Regions from separate parts of the Homo sapiens genome. Here all the other regions are linked to region 1. The links are contacts of gene promoters, found by promoter capture Hi-C in blood cells and fetal thymus (Javierre and others, 2016). All regions are on one chromosome and are shown on one strand. Each heading gives the region's core, a stretch centred on a gene start or on the middle of the fragment in contact. The rest is flanking DNA. Distances are from core to core; before and after follow the strand shown. Region 1 holds the start of ARHGAP20 (Rho GTPase activating protein 20). Region 2 has its middle 61 kb from the start of POU2AF1. Region 3 overlaps POU2AF2 (POU class 2 homeobox associating factor 2). Region 4 overlaps POU2AF2 (POU class 2 homeobox associating factor 2).

Region 1 (3,289 bases), core at 264-2,763:
TATTTCTTAAGGAAAAGCTAGAAGATGCCTCTAATCGCAACTTGTTTCCAGAAAAGCTGGAAGGGCACCACTAAGACAAGGCAAAAAAAAAAAAAAAGGCAAAATATCGGAAAGTCTTATGCTGGAAGCGGGGGTGGGGAGGCGGGGGACAGGCAGACAGGGCTAGAAACACCCAAATCAATTCCTCAGGGAGCGAAACGGCAGAGGCCGGCAGCCCGCGGCCCACGTGCACTTGCTCAGGGAACCGTTCCAGCGAAACCTGACCCGGATCGGAATCCTCCCGCAGCACAGCGGCCGTGTTTATCGGAATGGAACGCTACAAGTTGTCACCTGCATCCCTCTCCCAGCTTTGACAGGGAACACGCGCTGCCCCCACGCCCACACCGACACCCGGATCCCTATCCAGCCCGGCCAGAGTCCCAGGGGCCAGGGACCAGTGCAGGGAGAAGGTCCCCCACCTCAGCCCTCAGGACCCCCAACCACAGCCCACCCGCCCCCACCCTGCTCGGTTCTAGGCCCAGCCGAACCTACATGTCCCCGTAGTGTCGAGCGTTATCATCCACAGTCGCCCCTCAAACTGTGACCCCCACCTGGGAGACCCGGAATCATCCAGGACCCTGGTGTGGGGGGCAGTACTCCCCATATCTGCCCCCCGAAAACTGCTATGGAGCAGCCGCGCCTCGGCGGGCAGGTGAGGGGGCCGAGCCCACCAGCGCCGCAGCCCCGCTGCCTACCTTCTTCAGCGCCGGCTGCCGCTCCCGGGCAGACATCGCCGGCCCTGACTTTGGGGCTGACACCGCCAAAGGGCAGTCAGTGCTCGCCCAGGCCACTTCGGGAGGCCCAGGGGCACGGCGAGGGGTCGGGGAAAGGCGATCGCCCACTACAGCCCGCGCGCCTAGACTGAGGGAGGAGCCGGGCTGCAGAACCGGCGGCGGATGGAGACGGGAGGGAGGCTGCGAGGTCGCTCGAGGAGAGACTAAGGCTCTAGAAACGGAGAAGCGGGCGCTCTGCGGGAGGCGGCGGCGCTGCCGCTGGCCGTCAAGGGCGGGAAGTGTTCTGGGACTCTCATTAGGGGCCGCGAGCCTCGAGCGTCAAATTCCCGCGGCGTCCGCCTAGCGCGCTGCTGTGGCGGGCGCGGAGGGCGCGCGCCGGCAGTGGGGGCTGCGGCGGCGGAGGGCACGGGCCCCCGCTCAGCGTCCTCACCTTCTTGGTGCAGCTGCCTCCCGCGAGCCGAGACACTCCTGTCAGGGAAGAGGAGCGCCCCGGCTGTCCCCCTAGAGTCTCCTGCTGGGGGGACATCGCTTCCATGAAGAAAATCTTCAAACAAATCCCAGCCCAGGAGGAGGCTACACGATCATGTCCGCGGGCTGCCGGCCGGAGGGGCGAGGACGCGCGGGCGGAGGCGCGGCTGCCGTGCTCAGGCAGGGAGCCGAGCTCCGGGTGCTCGCCGCGCGCCTCCCGTCGGGGCCATGTACCTCCGCCTGCGCTCGACACCGCGGGCTGGAGGCGAGTGCAGCGGCGACAGCCCGTCAGCGCCGCGGCCCGCCCCGCCTCGGGCCCGCCCCCTCCGCTCCGGGCGCCCTGCGCCGGGGCCCGCCCCCGCAGCCCTCCTCAGCCCTCCTCCAGCCTGGGCCCTCCTAGCCTCGTCCCAGCCTGCGGCGCGCCTGGCGGGCGTCTCTCTATATATGTTAGCACACCGGCCACCGGCTGACCTTTTCGGTCTGTGACTCCGCGTGGGTGCAGCCCGCAGGAGCTCATCGGCCTGTGTCACGCACGGGGGCCTCTAGTGCACGGACACGCGCCTCTCCCGCCACCTGCCCACTCCCACCAGACCCCATCCCTTCCCGCGCCGTGCCCGCGGCGGAAGGCGCCCCTGCAGCGCGTGCATCCGCGGAGCGGTGGCGACCTCAGCCTGAGCAGAGGAGTTGCAGTGATTCCTGCCTCGCTTTCAGCGGACTGCGGAGGGAATCCCCCACCCCACCCCACTGGGGATAGGGTGGCACGTCGCAGAGTGTCGCAGCTGTACAAATTTGGAAGCCCACAGCATCGCCTGACCTCTTGTGCAATCCCGAACGCTAGCCTGTTCGGGTAACCCTGAGTGGGCTTCTGCAGCCGGTCATGTCAGCGGCCCCTGCACATTTGCACCCGCGGTTTCCGCTGTCTGCAGGCTGCAGAGACGGGGGCATTCCAAACGTGAAAGAGCAATGAAGGAAAATGCAGACAGAGCGAGGACGCCGAAATTTGGCTAAGCTATTGAGAAGGCTACAATATGTGGAAGTGTTTATCAGATATCTGCGCCGAGAGCATAACTTCCTGTCAGCCCAAATAGAGGCAAAAATATTTTAAAGGCCAAAGAATAATCAGAGGGAGAGGATTTGGAGCTGACCCGCGTTGAGCTGAGTGTTGCTGCACTTTGCGGGGCTGGTTGACTGGTACGGATGATTCGGTAGATGGCATTCTTCCCTTGGAGTCAGGACTAGAGAAGCAGTGGCGGATTAGTGAGGAAGGACACCACGCTATGATATTAGGTTGTGGAAGGGGTTTGGTTTGCTTTTGTGGTAAGAAGAAAAAAATCGAGGTTCCTGCCAGGTTAGGCTGTTATTAGGACAGGTTGTAGAAGAATAGGGCTCTGGCCGGCTCTGTTCCAAGGAAGGGATGCTGTCCAACACACACTCGCGCGCGCACACATCACCACCATGCCCAGGAATGGTTTATTGTGGAAATAATAGGGGGAAAATGTTCCAGCCCGTTTTAAGCCTTGTCCACCTCACACTGTTTAAAGTAGGCTTACATAGGCTTTATAAATCACACACACGTATAAATCACACACACGTATAAATCACATGTATGATTTGTAAATCATCTATTATTGTGTTTATGTATGTGTGCATATACACACACAGTTTTTCATGGCTACTCTCTTTTTGCAGCTGAGACCCATGTGCAGCGACAGGACTTTGCCCCCACCATAGAGTTTGTCATGAATTCTACACGCAGAGGGCTTTGCAGTTCCTTTCATTCCTTGCTGAAATCATCCACTTACAACTCGTTAGCCTCTTTTGGTTCCTATCATAAATGCACGCTCCCAATTTTCCTTACTCTGTTTTATTTCGATAACACTTATCTCCTTCTAATATATCATGTAATTTACTTAGTATGTTTAGTGTTTATTATCTATATCTCAGAGAAATGCAAGCTTCCAGAGGGCAGGAATCTTTTGTGGGCTTTTGTTGTTGTTGTTGTTATTGTTGTTCTTTGTCGTATACCAAGTGCTTGAAGCAGTGTCTGG
Region 2 (3,289 bases), core at 334-2,833, 730 kb after region 1:
CCTCTGTCCCTGCTGTCCTATCCATCCACCAGAAATCTCTGGCCAACACATTAAACATATTTTCAAATCCCCAATTCCCTGAACTTAAGGGAAAGCAGGCTGCCCCGGCCTGGGTACTGGGTGTTACCTGACTAGCACGTGGGCTGCCCCCTGTCCCGCACACCCACCCGCTGGGCAGCTAAGCCTCTGCGGTTGGGACCCCAGGGAGGCTTCCTGGTGATTTGCATATAATCACACAATGCCAGGCACAACAAAGCCACTCAAACAGCAGAGCCTTCTCAGCTGAGTTTAAAGTTTAATCTCCTTAATACAAAAGTTTCTGCTTTGCTTTTGATGGGTTCTGGAACTCTTGCTGATGATGCTAAACAAATAGTCACCCTTTCTCCCCCTCTGGAGGCTTTGCCCAGCGCATTGTGGCAGCACAGGCCCCAGTTGTTGTGGTTTACGGGCCAGACCTGCACCTGCACTGTTTGTGTGAGCTCATCTGGATGCCCAGAAGGGCTCTTTAAAGAGAGCCCAGCACAGCCGCAGATGGAGCAGGAGAAGACACCAGCCCAAGGACTGCTACAACCCTTGGCCAGACACCAGCTCAAGGCTGCCTGTACTCTCGGTGCCCCCCACCGCCCTCTACTTCCCTTACAGAAACATTCATCCCCAAGTCCTCCTCCCAGAACCCAGCTCCCTCCTATGTGTCTCTCAGGACCTTCCTCTTCCAGATGCCGTCCAGCCCCCTCGTACTTCCCCTCCCAGACTCACACCCCCTCTCAGTTTCTGCACACTTTGCCTCATCATCTGGAGGCCATTCCTAGGTCAGTTTTCCTATTTACTTCAGCACTTCACCTATAGGAGTCATAGAGCCATCCCAAGCAAAGAGCCTCTAGAAGACCCTTTCAAAGACATGCTCAGCACTTTACGTTTTGGCTCCAGCTCCTCCGCCCGGTCATTTTGAGAATGAGCCATGATCCTCCATCTCTCATATTGATGCGGGAATTGGAAGTTGGTCATTGAACTGGTGGCCTGAATAGGGGTGCCCCAGCCATCTTGGTTATCTGTTTTTGTGTAGCAAACAATCTCAAAACTTAGCAGCCTAAGACAACGGTTGTTTTATTTTATCTCACAGTGCTGTAGTTCAGAAACCTGTTCAGGGCTCAGCTGGGTAAGTCTGCTCTGTTGGCATTGGCTGGGGTTACTCTGTGATCTGGGATCTAAGATGGTTTCATTTTCATGGCTGGTGACTTAGTGAGTATGGCTAAAAGGCTTGGCTCAGCTGGGACTGTTGAGCAAAGGGCCTGCACATGGCCTCTCCAGCCTAGCAGATCAAGGCTCCCAGAGAGAGTGTCCCAAAAGAACTCTGCAGAAGCTTCAAGCCTTCACATGACCTAGGCTCTAAAATCCCAGAATCTCACTTCTGCTACATTCTATTAGTCAAGCAGATTCAAAAGAAAAGAAATTGCAACATCTTTAATCTGTCACACCAGCTAAAGAGGTCTTTTCAGAAGCCACCAGCCCCTGTAACTAGTTCAGAGACAGAGTTTCCTGGTCCCAATGTCTAAATAACCTATCCTTGCAAATAGAACATCACAGTTACCAGCCTGCATGTACTAGGAGCTGACATCCTTTCCATTCTTTCCCCAGAGACTCAAACCAACATCCTACCCCTGGGCGGTGTCCCCATTTGACCCCGTTTGGCCTGCCTCTTACCTACCTTGGCTGTTGGCAGGAACTTTGGTTTTTCTCAGTTGCTGCCAGACCTAGATCTGCCCTTTTCAGATTTTTGTTCACAGATAGCTTTAGATGGGAGATAAGGAAGCTTGAGTCAGGTCAGTGCTGAGGCGAAGATGCTGCCCCAAGACAGGGGGAATGCCCCAGACTTGTCCCATCCAGCCCTTGCAGAATGGCACCAGCAACAAGCACCTGCTGTAGAGAAGGGTTGTCACTATGTTGCAGCTCTGAGACTCTACAGAAGTCAGAGGTGGGTCATGGAGATGAGGGGACAAGGAGAGTGAGGAGGGGATAGGTGACTATCTGCCACACCACTTAGGTACTGAGTCACATCAACATGTATGCAATACCTGGTCAGACAGGCACCCGCAGACCCATCTGGCCCAGACCAGCTGCACTTTCCCAGGCTTAGGCTGGGAGTGGCAGTCATCTGGCAGAGTCTTGGTTCCTGGAGTGAGGGCACAAGGTCACACAGGCCAGGGCCAGAGACCGCTCTCTTTTCTTTTTTTTTTTTTTCACAAATACATTTCAAATGTTATTATGAAATATGCAAGCCATACAAAAAGGAATGAAGAATACAATAATAAACACCCATGTACCCACAACCTAACTTAAGAAATAAAATATTAGCAAAGAAAATCTCATAATGTAATATCTCAGGGCTCTGGGGAGTAGGGGAGAGAACAGGGTCTGCTCATGTTCCCACAGGAAGGAAGGAGTATTGAGAAGGAAGAGAGAAGCAAACTAGAGCATCAGCAGCGGCTCCTCCGAGAGAGAGATGGCTCCTTGAGCACCAGAGTCAAGGGAGATTTTATGGGCTTGGGAACAGACCACAGAGAATACACCACCCTTCTTCTTTCAACTCTCAGCTCAGAGACTTCCCAGATCCCACAGTCTGAATTAGTCATGAGTTCCTTAGAGATGCCTTACGGATTGACTTCTCTGTCCTTGTCTGCTCTTGGGCTGTTTATAATATATCCATGCCTCTCCCACGCCTGACTATAAACTCCGTGACTGTGCCTCGCTTTTGATCTCATGAAGTTCTTGTACAGGGTAAGAACTCCTTGTTATTGACTTGAATGTGTGACTAATCCTGGGAAACCCCCATGGTTGACGGGCAGGGGACAGAAGCATTAACAGAAAGGGAAAAGCAAAGCGAGTTGGGCCGGGCATGGTGGCTCACGCCTGTAATCCCAGCACCTTGAGAGGCTGAGGCAGGCAGATCACTTGAGGTAAGGAGTTCAAGACTAGTCTGGCCAACATGGTGAAACCCCATCTCTACTAAAAATACAAAAATTAGCCAGGCATGGTGGTGCATGCCTATAATCCCAGCTACTCAGGAGGCTGAAGCATGAGAATCACTTGAACCCGGGAGGAGGAGGTTGCAGTGAGCCGAGATCGCACCAGTGTACTCCAGCCTGGGTGACAGAGCAAGACTCCATCTCAAAAAACAAAAAAAGAAAGAAAAGTGAGTTGAACATAAGAGACCAGAGCATAGCTAACACCCAGACTTTGGTTTCTAATAACATTCTCCAATAAAAAGGAACCAGAACTCCTTGGGGATATG
Region 3 (3,289 bases), core at 520-3,019, 570 kb after region 1:
CTGGGCTCTCTCCCTGCCTGGGGCAGAGGCAGGAGGCAGAGCCACTCCAGCTGATAAATAAATGGCTAACATGCTGAGGGCAAATAGGGTGCTGATGCTGATGCTCATCGGATTGGGCATGTGTGCTGTGTCTCACAGGGGCCTTGATCCTGGCCCCAGCCTTGGCCAGAGCAGTTTAAGGGAAGCAGGCAGGAAGAGAAGGTGGGAGAAGAACAATGGGACATCTCCCTGGGCGGCACCCAGGACAGCTACCACCCCCTGGCACATCCTACTTAACCTGGAAGGAGGCTGAGGCTGAAGCCAGAAGACATATGTGTTGGCACAGATCTTCAAGGAAAGACCCAGCCACACCACAGAGCTGAAAATGGGAGGGTAACACTGGATAACATGGGCGCCTGCTACATGGGAATATGTGCCCAAATACAAGTGCATCTGTGATTTAATCACTGCCCCTTTCCTTCTCATAGAAATATTAAGGGACCTACTTCTGACCATTACATGCCCGAGAGTTCCCTTCTGCCACTTAAAAGTGTTAAAATATTAAACAGGAAAACCCATAAATCAAAAGGTTTGGAGAAATATACCACAGATTTGAAGGAACCAACAAATGCATAATAGTAATAATAGCTAAGGCACATATGCTGTTTACCATGTGGCAGACACTATTCTAAGTGCTCGATGTAATAATCTCATTTAATCTTCATGTGCCCAAGATCCCACAGCTAATAAGAGGTAGAGCTGGGATTCAAATGTAGTCACTCTGGTTCCAGAGGCTTTACTCTTAATTACCATGCTGCTTCTGAGTTGTTGGAAGATATTTTGCCTGGAGAAGTTCGAACTCGAGGTTGATATTACAGATTGCAATTGCACGTTTGCATTCCCCTAAAATTCAAATGTTGAGGTGCTAATCCCCTGTGTGATGGCATTTGGAGAAGGGGCCTTTGGGAGGTAATTAGATCTTGCAGGTGAATCCCTCTAATGGGATTAGTGTCCTTATAAGAAGAGACACCAGAGAGATGATCTCTCTCTCTGTCTCTCTCTCTCTCTCTCTCTCTCTCTCTCTCAGCCATGTGAACACACAGTGAGAAGCCAGCTTTCTGCAAACCAGAAAGAGGGCCCGCACTAAAAACCACACCTAGATCTCAGACTTCCAGTCTCCTGAACTGTGAGAAATAAATTTTTGTTATTTAAGCCATGCAGTCTATGGTATTTTTCATAGGCTTGTCTTCAGATATTTGAAGGGCTGTGTATGCAAGAAGTGTTAAACTTATTCTATAAAGACCAAAGGGATTAGAACTAGAAAGTTATTCTTTCCAGCCAACTTTGTAATTGGTAAAAGTTCCTAAAGAAGAAATGGGTTTCCTCAGAGGGTGCTAAGTTCTGTGTGCCTGGATATTAGATGCACCTGGTGTTAGTAATATGGAGAGAATGTAATCATTGAATGAGACTCTATAAAATTTCTTCCAACTCTTGAGAGTCTATAGAATCATTAAAGTCACTGCAAAAGAGCTCGGATTCAATGAACTGGATGTTGAGGATTCTTAACTTCCACAGAAGCTACACCCTCTCCACTTACTTTGCTCCAGGACATCTCGGAGCCATGATTTGCGTATTTTAAGACTCTACACGCCTAGATACTCTTCCTTCAGAGGTCAGCTTAGGCACTGCATCCTGCAAGATGTGTCTCCCACCCCATTCTTGACACCAGTTTAGGTGCCCGCATCACCCCATCTTTCCCTGACCCTGCCACTTCTCATACTACACCGAATATTCTGTTTTGTCATCAATCACCCCTGTATTGGTGTCTTAGGGCTGCAGTAACAAGTTACCACAAATGGGATGACTTACAGCAACAGAAATGTATCATCTCATAGATAGCTCTAGAGGCTAGAAGTCCAAAATCAAGGTGTCAGCAGGGCCATGCTCCCTCTGGAGCCTCTGGGGAGAATCCTTCCTTGCCTCTTCCTAGCTGGCAGTTGTCACTGGTGATCCTCGATGTTCCTTGGCTTGAGGTTGTATCACTCAAACTGCTGCCTTTGTCTTCACATGACCTTGTCCCATCTGCATCTGTGTCTTTGTGCGTCCCTCTCCTCTTCCTATTAGGACATCAGTCACATGAGATTTAGGACCCACCCTAATTTAATATGACCTCATCTTAATTTAAGTAGTTACATCTTTAACAGCCCTATTAGCAAATACCGTCACATTCACAGGTATCAGGGATTAAGGTATCAATATAACTTTGGGTGGCTTATGCCTGAAATTCCAGCAATTTGGGAGGCCGAAACAGGTAGATCACCTGAGGTCAGGAGTTCGAGACCAGCCTGGCCAACACAGTGAAACCCATCTCTACTAAAAATGCAAAAAGTAGCCAGGTGTGGTGGTGCGTGCCTGTAATCCCAGCTACTCAGGAGACTGAGGCAGGAGAATCACTTGAATCCGGGAGGTGGAAGTTGCAGTGAGCCGAGATCGTGCCATTGCACTATAGCCTGGGTGAGAGAGTGAGACTCCATCTCAAAAAAAAAAAAAAAAAATATATATATATATATATATATATCTTTTGGAGGGGGCACATAATGCAACCCACCACATTCCCCAACCTCTCCCTGCTCTCTAGCCTGTGGGTTCTTTGAAGATTGTGTCTTCATTCCACATATTTTTCTTACGTCTATTATGAACTACACCCTGTTCTAGGCACTGAGGGCACATCACAGTCAAGGTCCCTACAGTTGGTGGAGCTTCTTCCTCCACATGGATTCAGACAGTAAACATTGAAGTGGCCCTTCAGTGCTGAAGCCAAACACTAAGTGCATGTATGCACATACACACATACAGTAGGCGCCCCTTAGCCATGGTTTCCCTTTCTGAGGTTTCAGCTACTCATGGTTAACTGCAGTCTGAACATACTAAATGCGAAATTCCAGAAATAAACAATTTCTAGATCTTAAATGGCATGCCTTTCTCAGTGGTGTGATGAAATTTCATTCAGTCCCACTCTGTGCTGCCCAGGACTTGAATCTTACCTTTGTCCAGCCAATCCACACTGTCTACACCACCTGCCCGTTAGTGTCTCAGTAGCCGACTCAGTGATTGGATCACCTGTCTCTGTATGGCAGTGCTTGTGTTCAAGTCACCCTTATTGTATTTCACAATGGCCCGAAAGCACAAGAGTAGTGACACTGGCAATTTAGATATGCCAAAGAGAAGCCGGAATGTGCTTCCTTTAAATGAAAAAGTAAACGTTCTCAACTTAATAAGGAAAGAAAAAAAATGTATGCTGAGGTCAGAC
Region 4 (3,289 bases), core at 472-2,971, 540 kb after region 1:
TTTGTGCCCTTGACCTTAATTTCTTTCTGCCTTTTCAAGACCTCTTTCCATCATTCTGTCCCTCTCTTCTAAGCCATTAGTCTTCCCTCTGTCCTCTTCAAATATTTTCAACTCTCTCCCACTCATAAATGCATAAATAGATATAAGAACATAAGCAAACCTCTCCTTGACACCATAATTCTCTCTAATTATCACTCAATCTCTTGTTTCCCTTTCTCATTCAAACTTCAAGAAGAAATAGTCTCCCCTTCCTGTGTCTACCTCCTCCATTGACATTATTGTCTGGCTTCCAGCCACCCCGCACTTCTGAGTTATTCTTGGTAAGCTCAATGCCAACCACTGAATTGAAAGTAAGAGATGTTTTTCTGTCTTTATCTTCCTGAACTACTCTGTTGCCTCTGATTTTTTTTAATTTCTTTCTTGAAATCTCTTCCCCAGAATTCTAGGATGCTTTATTCCCCTGGTTTTTCCTGTTTCTTCTCCAATTAGTCTTCCCTTATCTTCTTCATAGGGTTCTCCTCTCCTCCTCTGACAACCATTCAAATGTCACTGTTCCCCAGGCTTCCATCTTTAATCATTTAGTCCACAGCTTCCAAACCTGTGTGTCAGAAATCAGTGTTATAGGCATTCCAAAGATACTGATCCTCTTAGCTCTTGGAAGTAGCCTGACCTGTTTACCCCAGTATGCCAGGTGCTCATTATTCTTTTCTATGTGTGCCACCATGTGACTTTATCTTTCAATCACTCCCCCAAGGGATTTCATCCTCTTTCTTGGTTTCATTACCATCCACATCACGATGGTTCTGAAACTTATGTACTGAGAGCAATTCCATGGTGGAAACTTGAGATTCACCCTTGAATCTTCTTCTCTCTCATGTTTAAATAATGTTCAAACCTGTCTGATCCTTGCCCTCCCATCCACCACTACTCAGTCCCCATCAGCTCTTGCCTGGATTATTCTAGAACCCTCCTGACTGATCTTCCCGCAGCTTTGTGATTCTCAAAACCACCTTCCTCTCAGCTGCCAGAAAAGTCTATATAAAATGCAAATCAAACCAACATCACTGTCTTTCTTAAAAGCCCCCAATGGCGTATGGCCTAGAGGATGCATTCCAAACTCTTCCCTATACCAGAAACATCATGATTGACCCCTACTCATTTCCCCAGCCTCACTTCCTGCCACTTCCTCTTTCTGTCCTTGCCTCCAGGACTTTGCCCGTGCTGTCTTCCTACCTATTTTGCCATCACCACACACACCCTACCTTGCTTTAAGCCCCAACTCAGGTATCACCCTGCCTTCCCTGAGTCTCTCTCCCCGCTACAAGGAAGTGATGCGTTCTGGGTTTCTCTGACTATCCTAGGTGTATTTCTGTTCTTGCACTTAGCACGTTTGCATCACAATTATTTTATTTTAAAGTATTTCTCTCCCCACTAGATAGCCATGTTCTTTTGTATCCCCAGTTCTGACACACAGAAAACACTCAATCAATAATCAATAAATCAATGTGACCTTAGGCTTTTCCAAAAGTAGAGCATCACACACAATTCTAGAAGCAACATTTAGATTCCTTTGGAACAATCATAAGATCAGTAAGCTTTAAATTTGAGGCTGATTTCAAAGAAGTATTTCAAGCTTCTTTAATTATAGCATATATGGACCAAATCCTGTCAAAATTAGACACAAATGATGATTCAAATAACTTTGTTTTGCTGAAATAAGGCTGCATGTGGCTTTACTTGAATTAAATAATACATTGTCTTGGAACCTGGATTTGTTTTTCTTCTTCATTTTGTATCGGTGTTTTGTATGAAGCTTGTTAGCTTTCAAGGAATTTTCACATGTATATCCTATTTTTGCCTTCTAATCCTCTGAAGACAGCTAAGAAGAGGTGATTATACCCATTTTACACATGAGGAAAATGGAACTGAGAGATTATTATTGTTCCAAGCCAGTGACTAATGTGTAACTGTGATTACCAGCAACCTCTTTTCTCCAATGCACCATACTACCTCTGGTTGTAGCTTTAATTTCTTCCTTTCTTCCTTCCTTTCATTCTTTTTACAATCCAATTTGACTCACAAATCAAATATATTCTGGACTATCTACAAATTCAACCAGATTAGAGAATAATTTTGGTTATGTGCCTCATACGTACATTTGTTTTTATATTCTGCCATACACACTGATGCTGAATTCTGTACCAGCTGAATTTGCTGGTAAGCCAGCAACACCTCAACTATCATGTATTTAATTTTAATTAAATGGAAGTTGTCTAACCTACTACAGAACAACAATTATAATAATTATAGTTAGAAAACATCTTAGAATTCCTCTAGTGGAACCACTAATACAGTGTATAAATGCTTTCTAGAATAGGCCAAACAAAAGGTTCTCTTATTATTTCTTCACCATCCTCAGTAATAAGGTTCTCACTATCCCTAGAAGCAATGCTGTCAATTTTAGAACCTTGGGGAAACGTTTTACTCTATAGTCTGTTATCTCTCTGTAATTCCCTCATGGTGAAAACAGCATATTTTTCTGGTTGTTGATACTACAAACCGACCTAAGTCTGGATTCCAGCTCTATTGCTTATAAGTAGCTGTGAGACCTTGCAAATAATTTAGTCGCAGACCTCAGTTTCCCCATCTGTAAAACAGATCAAATGAAGCAATACATGTAAATTGCCAAGCACTACAACATCTTCAGGAAGTGAATATAGTAAGTGCTCAATAAATATTTGTTAAATGAATGAATGATTCCTTATTTATCCTCGGCCTTATTTTGAAGCAGTAACTCCTCATGTTGAATCACCGATTTTCAAAAACAAAACATTTATTTAGTGCAGTAAACCAATAACAAACAACTTTCTTCTTAGGAACGTAATCTTCTTAAAACTCCTGCTGACCTGCTCACTCCCATCAGGTATAATAGGGCAGGAATACTGTTATGCTGTAACCTGAATCATACAAATCTAACTTCTACCTCATGTATTTAGAAGCATCATTTCAAGTTGCATCCAATCCTTGGACTTGTGATTAAAGCATAATTTGTAAACCTTGCCAGAGTAAATCTTGACAAGTCAGAGTACAAGGAAGGGACTTTGAAGAGCTGTTGTGTAGATGATGGAACAGTGTTTCTGTCACTTAGTAGAGCTTAGATGAGTCTCTATCAAAGATCAGGAGACACGGCTCTATTGAAGCTACTCTATCAAAGCCACTTCAAATCCAGGAATTCTATCATTCTATCAAGAAAATGACATCACAATGATCAGCCCCCTAAACATGTCCT

The links. The method cuts DNA at HindIII sites, captures the fragments that hold promoters and counts their contacts. A CHiCAGO score of 5 or more calls a contact.
Region 2: a contact is called between a fragment that was not itself captured here and the fragment with the promoter of ARHGAP20 in region 1, in 1 of 17 cell types (total B cells). The highest score is 7.7, in total B cells.
Region 3: a contact is called between a fragment that was not itself captured here and the fragment with the promoter of ARHGAP20 in region 1, in 2 of 17 cell types (M1 macrophages and naive B cells). The highest score is 7.2, in M1 macrophages.
Region 4: a contact is called between a fragment that was not itself captured here and the fragment with the promoter of ARHGAP20 in region 1, in 5 of 17 cell types (M1 macrophages, total B cells, naive B cells and 2 more). The highest score is 9.3, in M1 macrophages.

The regions. Positions count from the first base shown.
Region 1 is chr11:110,710,924-110,714,212 of GRCh38, forward strand. ARHGAP20 (Rho GTPase activating protein 20) reads right to left here and starts at 1,514. Exons shown (of 15, transcript NM_001384657.1): 1 at 1,204-1,514. The coding sequence starts at 1,308. RefSeq lists enhancers at 1-378, 1,361-1,862 and silencers at 1,386-1,445, 1,466-1,625. The HindIII fragment of the contact is 6,153 bases long and covers 1-3,194 here.
Region 2 is chr11:111,438,892-111,442,180 of GRCh38, forward strand. It overlaps a transcript of BTG4 not described here. Among named protein-coding and RNA genes, the nearest start is that of POU2AF1, 61 kb to the left of the region's middle. RefSeq lists silencers at 359-408, 429-498 and enhancers at 407-993, 1,830-3,029. The HindIII fragment of the contact is 450 bases long and covers 1,359-1,808 here.
Region 3 is chr11:111,277,525-111,280,813 of GRCh38, forward strand. All of the region lies in intron 2 of POU2AF2 (POU class 2 homeobox associating factor 2), which reads left to right. Among named protein-coding and RNA genes, the nearest start is that of POU2AF3, 19 kb to the right of the region's middle. The HindIII fragment of the contact is 4,046 bases long and covers 1-3,289 here.
Region 4 is chr11:111,252,635-111,255,923 of GRCh38, forward strand. The region is part of intron 1 of POU2AF2 (POU class 2 homeobox associating factor 2); the gene reads left to right. Among named protein-coding and RNA genes, the nearest start is that of POU2AF2, 8.6 kb to the left of the region's middle. The HindIII fragment of the contact is 180 bases long and covers 1,632-1,811 here.